Linked DNA regions of Homo sapiens: all the other regions are linked to region 2. The links are contacts of gene promoters, found by promoter capture Hi-C in blood cells and fetal thymus (Javierre and others, 2016). All regions are on one chromosome and are shown on one strand. The core of a region is centred on a gene start or on the middle of the fragment in contact, and the rest is flanking DNA. Distances in the headings are between cores, read along the strand shown. Region 1 holds the start of RAD21L1 (RAD21 cohesin complex component like 1). Region 2 holds the start of SIRPB1 (signal regulatory protein beta 1). Region 3 holds the start of PDYN (prodynorphin). Region 4 holds the start of SDCBP2 (syndecan binding protein 2).

The links. Contacts are between HindIII fragments. The CHiCAGO score rates a contact against its expected background, and 5 or more counts as called.
Region 1: the fragment with the promoter of RAD21L1 here is called in contact with the fragment with the promoter of SIRPB1 in region 2 in 5 of 17 cell types (activated CD4 T cells, total CD4 T cells, neutrophils and 2 more); the score reaches 7.0 in activated CD4 T cells.
Region 3: the fragment with the promoter of PDYN here is called in contact with the fragment with the promoter of SIRPB1 in region 2 in 2 of 17 cell types (neutrophils and monocytes); the score reaches 9.5 in neutrophils.
Region 4: the fragment with the promoter of SDCBP2 here is called in contact with the fragment with the promoter of SIRPB1 in region 2 in 13 of 17 cell types (neutrophils, activated CD4 T cells, naive CD8 T cells and 10 more); the score reaches 19.7 in neutrophils.

What each region holds. Positions count from the first base shown.
Region 1 is chr20:1,224,785-1,227,484 of GRCh38, reverse strand. RAD21L1 (RAD21 cohesin complex component like 1) reads right to left here and starts at 1,441. Exons shown (of 14, transcript NM_001384355.1): 1 at 1,345-1,441. RefSeq lists a silencer at 1,180-1,229. The HindIII fragment of the contact is 7,037 bases long and covers 1-2,700 here.
Region 2 is chr20:1,618,715-1,621,414 of GRCh38, reverse strand. It overlaps SIRPB1 (signal regulatory protein beta 1), which reads left to right and starts at 1,406. Exons shown (of 6, transcript NM_006065.5): 1 at 1,406-1,546. The coding sequence starts at 1,471. The HindIII fragment of the contact is 7,240 bases long and covers 1-2,700 here.
Region 3 is chr20:1,992,634-1,995,333 of GRCh38, reverse strand. PDYN (prodynorphin) reads left to right here and starts at 1,276. Exons shown (of 4, transcript NM_024411.5): 1 at 1,276-1,423; 2 at 2,691-2,700. All of the region lies in intron 3 of PDYN-AS1 (PDYN antisense RNA 1), which reads right to left. RefSeq lists an enhancer at 906-1,736. The HindIII fragment of the contact is 28,770 bases long and covers 1-2,700 here.
Region 4 is chr20:1,327,873-1,330,572 of GRCh38, reverse strand. It overlaps SDCBP2 (syndecan binding protein 2), which reads left to right and starts at 1,434. Exons shown (of 9, transcript NM_080489.5): 1 at 1,434-1,488. All of the region lies in intron 2 of FKBP1A-SDCBP2 (FKBP1A-SDCBP2 readthrough (NMD candidate)), which reads left to right. All of the region lies in intron 1 of SDCBP2-AS1 (SDCBP2 antisense RNA 1), which reads right to left. The HindIII fragment of the contact is 15,880 bases long and covers 1-2,700 here.

The DNA.
Region 1 (2,700 bases), core at 192-2,691, 390 kb after region 2:
GTCGGCGAAAGAATTAAAAACTTAGGTAAACTTCCATCAGTGTCTATTTGTACCGCAAGAATTCAATCATTATGCCCCAACTAAAGGTGACGCAATCCGCCAAACCATGTTCCCCTACGGGGCAGCTGGAGATTTTAATGCATATGGCTTGTACCTTGCGCTGGTTCCACTACTTTCCTTTTTAGTCTGTGTGTTTCGCTCTCTCGGAATAAATTCCTATTTATCTTTTTAAATGGCTCCCAGTGGTGTGAGGTACTTTTAAAATGTACTTTTTGGCCTGGCGCAGTGGCTCACGCCTGTAATCCCAGCACTGTGGGAGGCTGAGGCGGGCGGATCACTTTGATGCCAGGAACTGGAGACCAGCCTGGCCAACATGGTGAAACCCCGTCTCTACTAAAAGTACAAAAAGTAGCCAGGCACGGTGGCGGGCGTCTGTAATCCCAGCTACTTGGGAGGCTGAGGCAGGAGAATCGCTCGAACCCGGGAGACGGAGGCTGCAATGAGCCGCGATCGCCCTACTGCACTCCAGCCTGGGCGACAGAGGGCGACTCCGTCTCAAAAAAATCAAATGTACTTTTTAAGTGATGGACTTCTTAAAAGAGAAAACAAACAAAGAAAAAACCCAAACCCTGAGATTTGCTATTCCTGAGACATTGATTTTCCCGAGCACATATTACCTAACCTTTTTCCCCTCCCCACAAAATACGCACACAAACTCCCCCCGCACCCTCCCGCCCCACGTCCCGGAGGCTTTTTCAGTCTCCAGATTGAACTGACTTCGTGCAACGTGAAGCCACCGGGATGGGGCCACTCCGTGGAAACCGGCCCGCAAAGGGCAGGGTGGCGGCGGTGGCGGGGAGGGAGCGAAGGGAGGGAGGAAGGGGTCGGAAGGGGACCGGGCGGGGACCCTGGGAGAGGGGCGTGGGGAGAGAGGGCTGAGCCGGGCAGGGCGAGACCCTTCCGGGCGTGAGGGAGGGGAAAGCAAAGTGCAGGGGCTGGGAAGAGCTGACGGCCACGCTCAGGGGCAGGGGGACGCCAAAGGCTCCTCCACAGACGACTCCTCAGAGTTCCGGGCCGGGTGCTCACAGAGGGAAACTGAGGCCACAGCGCCCATTTTCTTCCGCGTGCGGGCGAGGAGACCCCGGGTCGCGCCTCCAGCCCCAGCTGGGCTGCGGGCGACGACCTTTCTTCCTCAGGCGGGACCCTCCGGGCTTGGCGCCGCGAGCTAACACGGCGTGAGGCGCCGGCGCCGGGTGCGTGTGGGAATGTGGGTGGCGGCGGCCCCCATCTCCCAGCCCGCCTACAGCACTCGGGGTCCGGCCGGCCTCTCAGGCTGCGCCCTACTTTCAAAGCCTCGTCTGAGGTGTGGCGTGCCAGAGCAGGGGCTGCGAGGAGTCGCCAAGTCAGCTTGGCCGGGTTCTTGGCGCCGCTGGGCGTCTGCAATGCGCGGCAGGCGCGGGGCGGGGAGGGGCGGGGCGTGGAGAAGGCGGGGCAGTGGGCGAGGGCGGGGCGTGCAGGGGACGGGGCGGAGCAGTGGGCGAGGGGCGGGGCGTGCAGGGGACGGGGCGGGGCAGTGGGCGAGGGCGGGGCGTGCAGGGGACGGGGCGGGGCGTGCAGGAGACGGGGCGGGGCAGTGGGCGATGGACGGGACTGACAGGGGATGGGGCGGGGCAGTGGGCGAGGGGCGGGGCGTGCAGGGGATGGAGAGGGACGGGCAGGACATGGGGAGGGGCGTGGAGGGGTATGGACGGGCGGGGCGGGGCAGTGGCTGAGGGACCGGGGGCAGGGGGCGGGGAAGGGCGGGCCAGCGACCGAGGGACTGGGCGCGGCGGCGGCGGCGGCGGCTGGGGGTACGGACAGAGTAGGGCAGTGCGCTAGAGTGGAGAGGACCGGGACTGAGAGGGACGAGGGCGCAGGGCGTTGGTGGGGACAGTGGACGGGGCAGGAGGGATAGAGTCAGACAGTGAGCAAGGCGCACCGGTCCTAGTGCGCAGTCTCCGGCTTTGTCCTGGCGCTCGGACCTGAGACACCTGAGCAGGGGCATGACAGGGATGGGGCCTGGGCCCCATAGTCCTGTTGTGAAAGGTGATCTTTCTGGCTGATCTCTGAACATCCCTATGATGCAGTCCAGTCTCTTCTCTTCCACTTATAGCTGGAGGTCACTGGAGAAATTCTTTAATCCCTTGAACCTCAGATTTTCTCATCTGTAAAGTGAAAATAATAAAAGTACTCGCGCCGTAGGATATTGTAAGAAATAAATAAAATGAACCATGAAAAGAGCCAAGCAATAATAAGTGCTCTACAAATATTAGCTATTATTATTATTGTTATTATTAAAAAGATTATTCACATTGACCTGCCCTTTGGGGACAGCAAATATTTTCCAGCCTGGAATATCACAGTTCTCAGTAGTCAAGGCCAAGTGCTAGAACCTGAGAAAAATCCTGCAAGAGCATCAGGATGCAAGGCTGGTTTCCTCTCTTGAGTTTGATAGTAAATACTAATAAATCTTGGAGCGGCAATGGCATCCAATATAAGGTTATTGATAAGGTTCAGGCTCCTGGCTGGGCATTTTCATGGGTTGTCTCATTGACTCTTCAAACAATCTCACAAAAGTAGTTACTGGTTTTCCCCTTTTGAATAAGGAAAGGGCTGGAGAAAAAATAGCAACCTGTCTAGGGTCACGTGGTTGGGAATTGT
Region 2 (2,700 bases), core at 157-2,656:
AATTTTTCTAAAGCACAAGTATGTCAGGGAAGCAGTGAACTCACCCTGTACACAAATGTAATTATAGCCACAATTTTTTGGTTATAATTAAATATGAATCAAACCTTCTGTATGGCTTATATTACTCTTACCATATCACTACAAGGTGCATGTTATAACTTCCATTTACATGTAATTAAGTTAAGGCTTAGAGAAGTCAAGTGTCTTGTTGAAAGTCACACAGCTGGAGATTGTAAGAAAAGGAATTCATCTACAGATTGACAAAAAGCAGGGTGAAGAGGATCCAGAGGGAGAAATTGATCTCAGAGTGTCAGAGGTAGACCAAGTACACCATAAAAGCTGGGTTCCAGAAGTCCGGGGAACATGGGAGAAGGCCACTGGTGGGAAACTCAGCATGCAGTAGAAATCCATTTAAAAGCAATATTTGAGTTCCCTCTCTTCACCTGGCACCATGAGTATCAATAATAACCTACTGAATCTCAGGGATGTATAGTCATTATCTCTTTTGATGTTCACTAAAACATGGCAGTGAGACTTATTATCCCAAGGTTAGAAGGCAAAACTGAACCTAGGCAGGCCCAGTAACTTCCCCAACTCCTTAGCACATCTTCTTAGGGTATTTATTCTCCCTCCCTCCTCAGTTCCCATCTGAAGACAGTGATGAATGGAATAGGTGTTCTATGTGCAGAGCAAAGAGTATTGAAATCGATGTGACTGCTCCAGGAATCTGCCCTCCATATTCTCCCCCATAATAAACATATCCCCTTTCCATAACCCATAATCCCCACCTCACCTCACAAAGCAGATCCTTATTACCCTAAGCCCACTTCCTCTCCTGGAAGAAGTCAGGAAATAATTCCTTCTGCTGGGTGCAGGCATATGAAAGTGCTAACGGCCACATGAGACTGAATTTGGGCTAAGTTTTGCCATTTATATTTATAAAAGTTCGGAATAGGGAACCATTTCAAGAGCAGACCTGTTCCTCTCCAACACTGAGCAGGTCCAGTGATCCCTCATCCTGCCCCAACTGAGTAGCACTTGGTTGAGGCTGTTGTAGAATGAGACCACAAGCCAACCACATCCTGAGGTCTTGAGATGGAAAGTTTAGGAAACATTTCATAACCACAGGTCCTTCCTGGCTTAAGAGCACCAAATGGCAAATCACCAAGAAGACATAAAGATGGGGTTAGGAGTCATGGAAGGAGTTAAGACCTCAGGTGGGAAGGAAGCATTATTTCTGCTAAGCCTGTCTGATTCTCCTGAAATGGGGCATGCATAACTGCTTGCATTGTAGCTGCTTGCTGTTCCTGATTTCTGTTTCACAATCCAGAAGCAGGTTACTGCTTCACTCCATCGCAGCCACTTCCTCTTGAACTAAGGGAGGCAGGGCTTGTCTTCTCTCCTCAGAGCAGAGTCTGCGATCTTCCCAGCACAGACGTTTGGACAGAGCAGGCTCCTAAGGTCTCCAGAATGCCCGTGCCAGCCTCCTGGCCCCACCTTCCTAGTCCTTTCCTGCTGATGACGCTACTGCTGGGGAGACTCACAGGTGAGCACTGCCTTCGGTTAAAATCTTTTTTCCTGCCCACTGAGCCATGGCCTGTCCCTGGACTTTCAGGGATTCCGGACAATGACAAGTGCTGCCAAGAAAGGCCAAGGATTAGGCTTTGACTGAGAGCAGAAAATCAGGGAGCTGAGCACTTTCTCTGTGGATCTGCAGCTGGCTACCAGAGGCATTGAACCACAGGACGATTCAACCACCACAACAACAATTACTTACATTTTGATAATATTTCAATTGAAAAAGCAGAGAAGAATCATTATCTAAATCCTCACCAGTCCTGAGGCCCTAGGGCCAAGTGACATGCCCAAGTCCACAGAGTAAGCTCAGAGACACCCTAACAGGGTTATGTGGCTCTAGGCCCAGCCCTCTCTCTTCACCAAACTGAGGATGTGAAGTCTGTAATAGTGCTCACTTGAGTAGGGCAGTGGTGTGGTGTATCCTGGGAGTGTTCAGCCACCATCCTCCCTAAGGGTGCTCCTCACTTTGTCCTCTGTTCCCCCATGCTCCTCCCTCCCCTGTGACCTGATTCTTACCACCCATTTCTCTGTGGCCTCTTCCTCTTTAAGAAGTTCCACATTTGCTGCTTACTGGGTCCTATATTCCTTTCCTAGGGCTTCCATAACAAAGAACTGCAGGCTGGGTGGCTGAAACTACAGATATTTACTTCCTTGCAGTTAAGGAGGCTGAAGTCCAAGATCAAGGTGTCAGCAGGGTTAGTTTCTACTGAAGTCTCTCTCCTTGGCTTATACAGGGCCATTTTCTCTCTGTGTCTTAAACACATGATCTTCCTCTGTGTGTGTCTGTGTCCTCATCTCCTCTTCTTATGAGAATATCAGTCTTGTTGTATTAAGGCCCACCCCAATGACCTCATTTAACTAAATTACTTCTTAAAGACCCTGTCTCCCAAACTGTAACGTTCAGAGGTGCTGGGGATTAGAGCTTCAACACATGCATTTTGTGGGACACATTCAGCCCATAACAGGTACTACAACCTCCTTTGGTTCTCTTAAATTTCCCATGGATAATTTCTTTCCCCTTCCCAAGACAGGCAGGATTGGAGGGCCTTTCCTGGTGCAGCCTGGGAGAACCCTGCTCACAGCTCCCAGACAAGTTACCTGTCCTGATCCCTTCTCAGGCCA
Region 3 (2,700 bases), core at 27-2,526, 370 kb before region 2:
GACTTACTTGCTGTGTGTCTCTAGGAAAGTTTCTCAGCTCTCAAACCTCTGTTTTCTCATCTGCAAGATGGGGATAATATTAACCAACTGGCTAGGTCATGAGGATTAAATCTGACAACTCTACCTAACCGCCTGGTGCAGCCAGGTGCCCACAAAATGGGCGGCCCTGCCAGACTTCTGAAATAGTTGTGCCTCCCACCACAAACTGTCTGCTATTGACTGAGAAGAGAAGCATGTTCTCTTCCAAACTCAAAGACCCTTATGTTCTGGAAGATCTCTGTAGCAATGAAGAGTGCCACCTTCAAGCTGCTGCTGGTCCAGGCCAAGGGTATATTGAGGTGGGTCCATCCCTCACCCAGAGTGTGTGCTGAGGCATATTGCAGCCCATATTTTGAGGGGTTTTTCCTGCTATTCATTTTGTGTTGCCGCCAGAGAAAACTAAACTGCAGCTCCTGGCTGTCGGGGAAGAGCTGTGCTTCTGCCAGGGCTAGTGTGCCTGGCACCAGCTCAGGCATGTACCAGAGCCGAATGCCGTTTGCAGGCAAATGTACACACAAAAAGATTCCAGCACACGCGTGCACCAGCCAACACAGAGTTGCCACGGCACGCAACAGCGGGCCATGCACGTGCCTGCTGACTCGGCTGTCATCTTCCGACTCTCTTCCGTGATCAGAAGACTGTCTCAGCCTCTGTCTGTCTCCACGTCTGTCTGTCTGTGGATCAGTGTGTTTTGAGTCTGACAGTCTACCTGGCTGGTTTCCTTTTTTCTTGCTCTGTCCCTCTCTCCTTGTGTTTCTACCCATCTCCCTATCTCTGCCACTCTCTGTCTCTGTTTTTCTTTCTCTTTCTCCCCTCCTTTGTATCACTCCCTAGGTCCGACATTGCCTCTTTCTCGATTTCCGATTCTCTCTGAGTCTCTCTCTCTCTCTCTCTTTCTCTAACTCTTCTGTCTCTGTCCTTCCCTGTCTTCTTTTTCCTGTGACACTCTCCTGGAAACGCATCAAAAACTGAAGTGGCCGGATTTCAAGTGACAAACAGCACTACACCCAGAATCCGCCCCCTCCCCAACACGGCTGCCTTCCTCCTCCACATCCCTGTCACGAAGAGAAGCCTATTGTGTCAGGCCCAGGGAGTTCGAGTTGAAGGGCCTGGGGGTCTGTGCTCTGACTGCTCTCAGCCACTTCCCCATTGGCTCCCAGCAGCCTGTGCTCAGCAAGGGCTGAGCGACAGGGGAGGCTCTCGTCCATAAAAGGGGGGAAGAGGCACCAGAACTGCCATTTGAAGGGGCTTTGGTGGTGTTCACAGCTGCCTCTTTGGCACCTCCTCCCAAGCCGGAGTCAAGGAGGCCCCTGAGCCTTGGACCAGCCACTGCCACCTCCGACCTGCTCGGCCAGAAGCTGCCCAGGGACAAAGCAGAGTGCAGGTAACATCCAGAGGGGGCACTGGAATTCTATCGCTTGGTTTTATTTGCTTATTCCTGGTCCTCTGGACCTAGAGATGGTGGGAGCTCGGGCTGGGGATTTTAGGTTTGGGTCTGATTATCTAGCAAAGGTGGTTACAGTTAGGAGGCTAGTTCACAAAAGCCAGACCAGTGAGAGACTGCTCTTTGGACTCTCCCTTTCTGCACAGTCCTGGCTTAAACAGGTGGTAAGCTCTCTCCCAAGAGGACCACCCTTTGGCTTTAGCTCCAGGGTCTCCTTCTTGCAGTCTCCCACACAGCAGTTCCCATGCCATTCCCAGGGTCTGGGGAAAATGGGACACCCTGGATGGGAGAAGTGAGAGGTTTCACTAATCAGGGTGATTTTAAAGGTCAATGAGTCTCACTGGACTTAGAGAACAATGGCTTGAGGACATTAATGAGATCCAAGGCTCTGGCATTTATCACATAACATGTACATCAATGTACGGCCAGGTTCGGCCTTTTCATTCTTTTCGGATTGTGTTTAATTGCTGACAGGGTGCTGGTTTGAGCGGCTTCTTTTGATGGAATTTGATACAGGTTGAAGTTTGGGGATGTTTTGTTGGAAGGGAATGGGAAAAGGGAGTGACAACAAGCCAGGAGGCCCAGGCTTAGCAGGCATTTTCTTGTCCATTTTACTTGGAAAGGACTTGTTGCTCTCCTATTAACTACAGCCAGAGGAGTCTAAGGCCAGGAGGAGGCTCAAAGGGAAAGCCATTTGCTCACTGGTCCAGAGACCCATATTCAGAAAAGTACCAAGTCTCAAAGTTTGATTCTAGCAAAAAGCTGATGAGTTTCAGGAAAAAAAAAAAAAAAAAAAAAGCCTGCTGACTACTCCAAGGTTGAAGAGTAAATTCTGCAACTGCTTACTTTTTCCTGGGTATCAAGAATCCCTCCAAGCTCTACAAACATTACTTAATTAAGTCTCCAGTCTTCCCAGGGGAAACAAGCTCTTTCGATTATTGGATCTGATTTCAATTCCCCTCCCACAGACTGAAAGTCTTCATTATCATCTTTCTTCCAAGGGTTGCTGAAATATACAAGGCTTGCCTTTCTAATTTGACAGGCATCCCAGTCGAGATCCATTGCAAAGCATTGCAGAATGTCGATCCTCTTCTGTTCTTTCTCACCCCAGGCCTCACTCCCACCCCTCTGTGGCACCTTCCTTCTCTTTTCCCCTCCTCTTCTCCCCCCAGTCCCACCACACCTTGCCTTTGTTCTATTTTTGCAGGTCATTTATC
Region 4 (2,700 bases), core at 185-2,684, 290 kb after region 2:
CAGTGTCCCCACCTGGAGGAATGGTGTGAGTCACACCTACTCTGCAGGGATGGCATGAGAAGCCATTGAGATAATGCCTTTAAAGTGCCAGGGGTAGAATCTCTGTGCTCTCTGGGAGTAAGTGCTGAATTAGTGGCAAATGTCTTTCTTGTTATTATTCCTATTGTGTGTTTCCTGTGTGGGACTCTGGGCTGTAAGCTCTTCATTGGCAGGCACAAGATCTGACACCCAAGGCTAGTGCAACTCTGCCAGGTGGGTCATGGGAACTGTGACGTAGGCCTGCCTGGCCCAGGAAGCAGCCCAGATACTGACACACCCTGAGTGTGTACAGCGTCAATCCTCATGGGACTGCCCAGCACACGAGTCCCTCGTCCCTCCCCAGGCACCCAGTGCGACAGGCACCCTCACCCAACCAAACCCACCAGGATCTAAACTAAATTCTTCCTCCTTTTCTGTTCAAATTTATATAATTATTTTTGGAATAAGTAGTACATTTAAACTTTTCAAAATTTAAGACACCAAAAATGTGCCATAAAAAAAAAAATCTCCACCTCAGCACACAGCTCCTTAGGTCTGCTCCCAAGAGACAACCACTCTAAATTCCCATTAAAATAATCAAACTTAATTGCTTCCCCCTTACAAAAGTCATGAGCATTCAGAGCAAAAGCTAACTTAAAAAAAAAAAAACCACCTTGGAACACACAAAAGTACAAACTGAAAACCTCACCCTCAATGCTGCCATTCAGAGATACTCAGCATTTTAGCGTATGTCCTCCTAGACTGCTTTCAACGCACATCCACTTTACAAAAAATGAAAACAAAATGCAAGAAGAGATTCACAATATTGATTTTTCAACATCTCACTAGAATCTCAGAAATGTTTCCTCATACCTTCTTCCTTAAGTGACTTTAATAGCTCTGTGATCTTCCACAGACAATGATTTATTCAAGCAGACCACAGAGATGGGCATTTGGGATTTCTACATTTTCCTTACTAGAAGCAGCAGTGATGGATGGGCCCTGTGACTCCACTGTAACAAATTCCTAGAAGAAATGCTGGGTCACAGGATATGACCACTTTTTAATATCCTGGCCTAGACCCCTAGATACCTATCACAAACCGCCCTCTAGCCAACTGCCTCGATCAGCAGGACTAGGTGTCCAACCCAAATTTAGAGCTATTTAAGAAAAGGCCAAGAAGTCTTGGTTCATAACCGTCTGAACAGCAGCTGTGAGGGCCTTAATCCCACCTCCAAATCCAGACTAAGGCCAAAGGCCTCCTCTGGGCTGGCAACCTGCCTTGTTTACCCAGCCACAGCCCTCACCTGTGCCCATCCCAGTCCAAGGTGAGTCAGCTGAACAGGGGACAGGCACCACCCTTCCCAGATCAGGAAGCCAGCTGAGAGACAGGGCTACGTTTCAGGGAGGGAAACAGATTCAGCAGCGGCAGCAGCTGGAGAAGGTCGTGGAGCAGCACCTTGCCTGCAGGTAAGCGCTGGGGGCCCTGACCCAATCCTGGCTGGGATTGGGATGAGTGAGACCTGCTCTCACCCTGTCCCCTTCCCTCCCTGCCCCTTCCCTTCTGGGACTTCCCAGGCAGCTTCCTTTCGAAGTGCTTCACTCCAAGCAGTCAAGTGTGAAGTGGGGTTTCTTCTTCTGATCCCAGCCCTGGACCAAGTTTGATTAAGGGCTGAGTGATTTTCTTCACCCAGACATCATGAGGGCCCCCGATGCCTTCTGACTGCCCATGACTGTGCTCAAGGAGATGAGATCCACACTTTGCTCCTTGAAAGGCCAATTCCAGCCGAAACCAGAGGCTGCAGGCAGGCAAAAAGCCCATTTCTCCCAAGGAATCCACAGCTCAGGCCGACTTCTCTGGCCTGAGGCTGTTTCTATCAAAAAACCTTCCTGCCACAGCACTGAAACACCTGCTGGGGAACTGCGCCAGGGGCTTCACCTTTCTAAGAACTGGTTTCTTCATCTGGAGACTGAAAATAGCCCACAAAGTCAGGAGAATGGAAGGACATACTGGACACAGGAGCCAGTGCATGCCCTCCTCAGCAGGGTCTCAGAAAATGGGGCAGAAAACGAGCCTGGTATGGGCTGGGCGAGCACTGGACAGGCAGCTTCACGTACAGTGGCCCAAGCTCATGACAATTCCACCACCATCACTTCCCACCTGGGCTCCTGCTCCCACTCCTGCCCTGTAGCCCATCCTCCAAACATCAGCCAGAGGAGGCCTGTCAAAATAACCCTTGGACCTTGGCACTCTGCTGCTACAAATCCCCCAGTGGCTCCCATCTCACTACAGTAAATGCCAAAGTCCTCACCATGACCTCCAGGCCCTCCAGGATCTGGCCCCTCTCACTTCTCCAGCTTCCTCCCCACTACTCCTCCTTACTCCCTCTCTGCACAACTGGCTTCTCACTGGCAGATGTCCTCTAAACACAACACCAACTCCCACCTGAGAGGCTCTGCAATGGCCGTGCCCACCCCATTAGGCCTTTCCTCAAATGTCACCCCACCCAGCCAGCAAGGCTTCTGAACCTCCTGACATGACCCTCCGTCCTGCTCTTTCTCTCCAGTGCCTCCCACCATCTAACACAGCACACAGAGTCACAAAGCCTATTTATCCAGCTCTTCCCCCAAAGAAAGTACATTTGGGGACCAAGTCTTCTTTCCTTCACTGCTGATACCTAG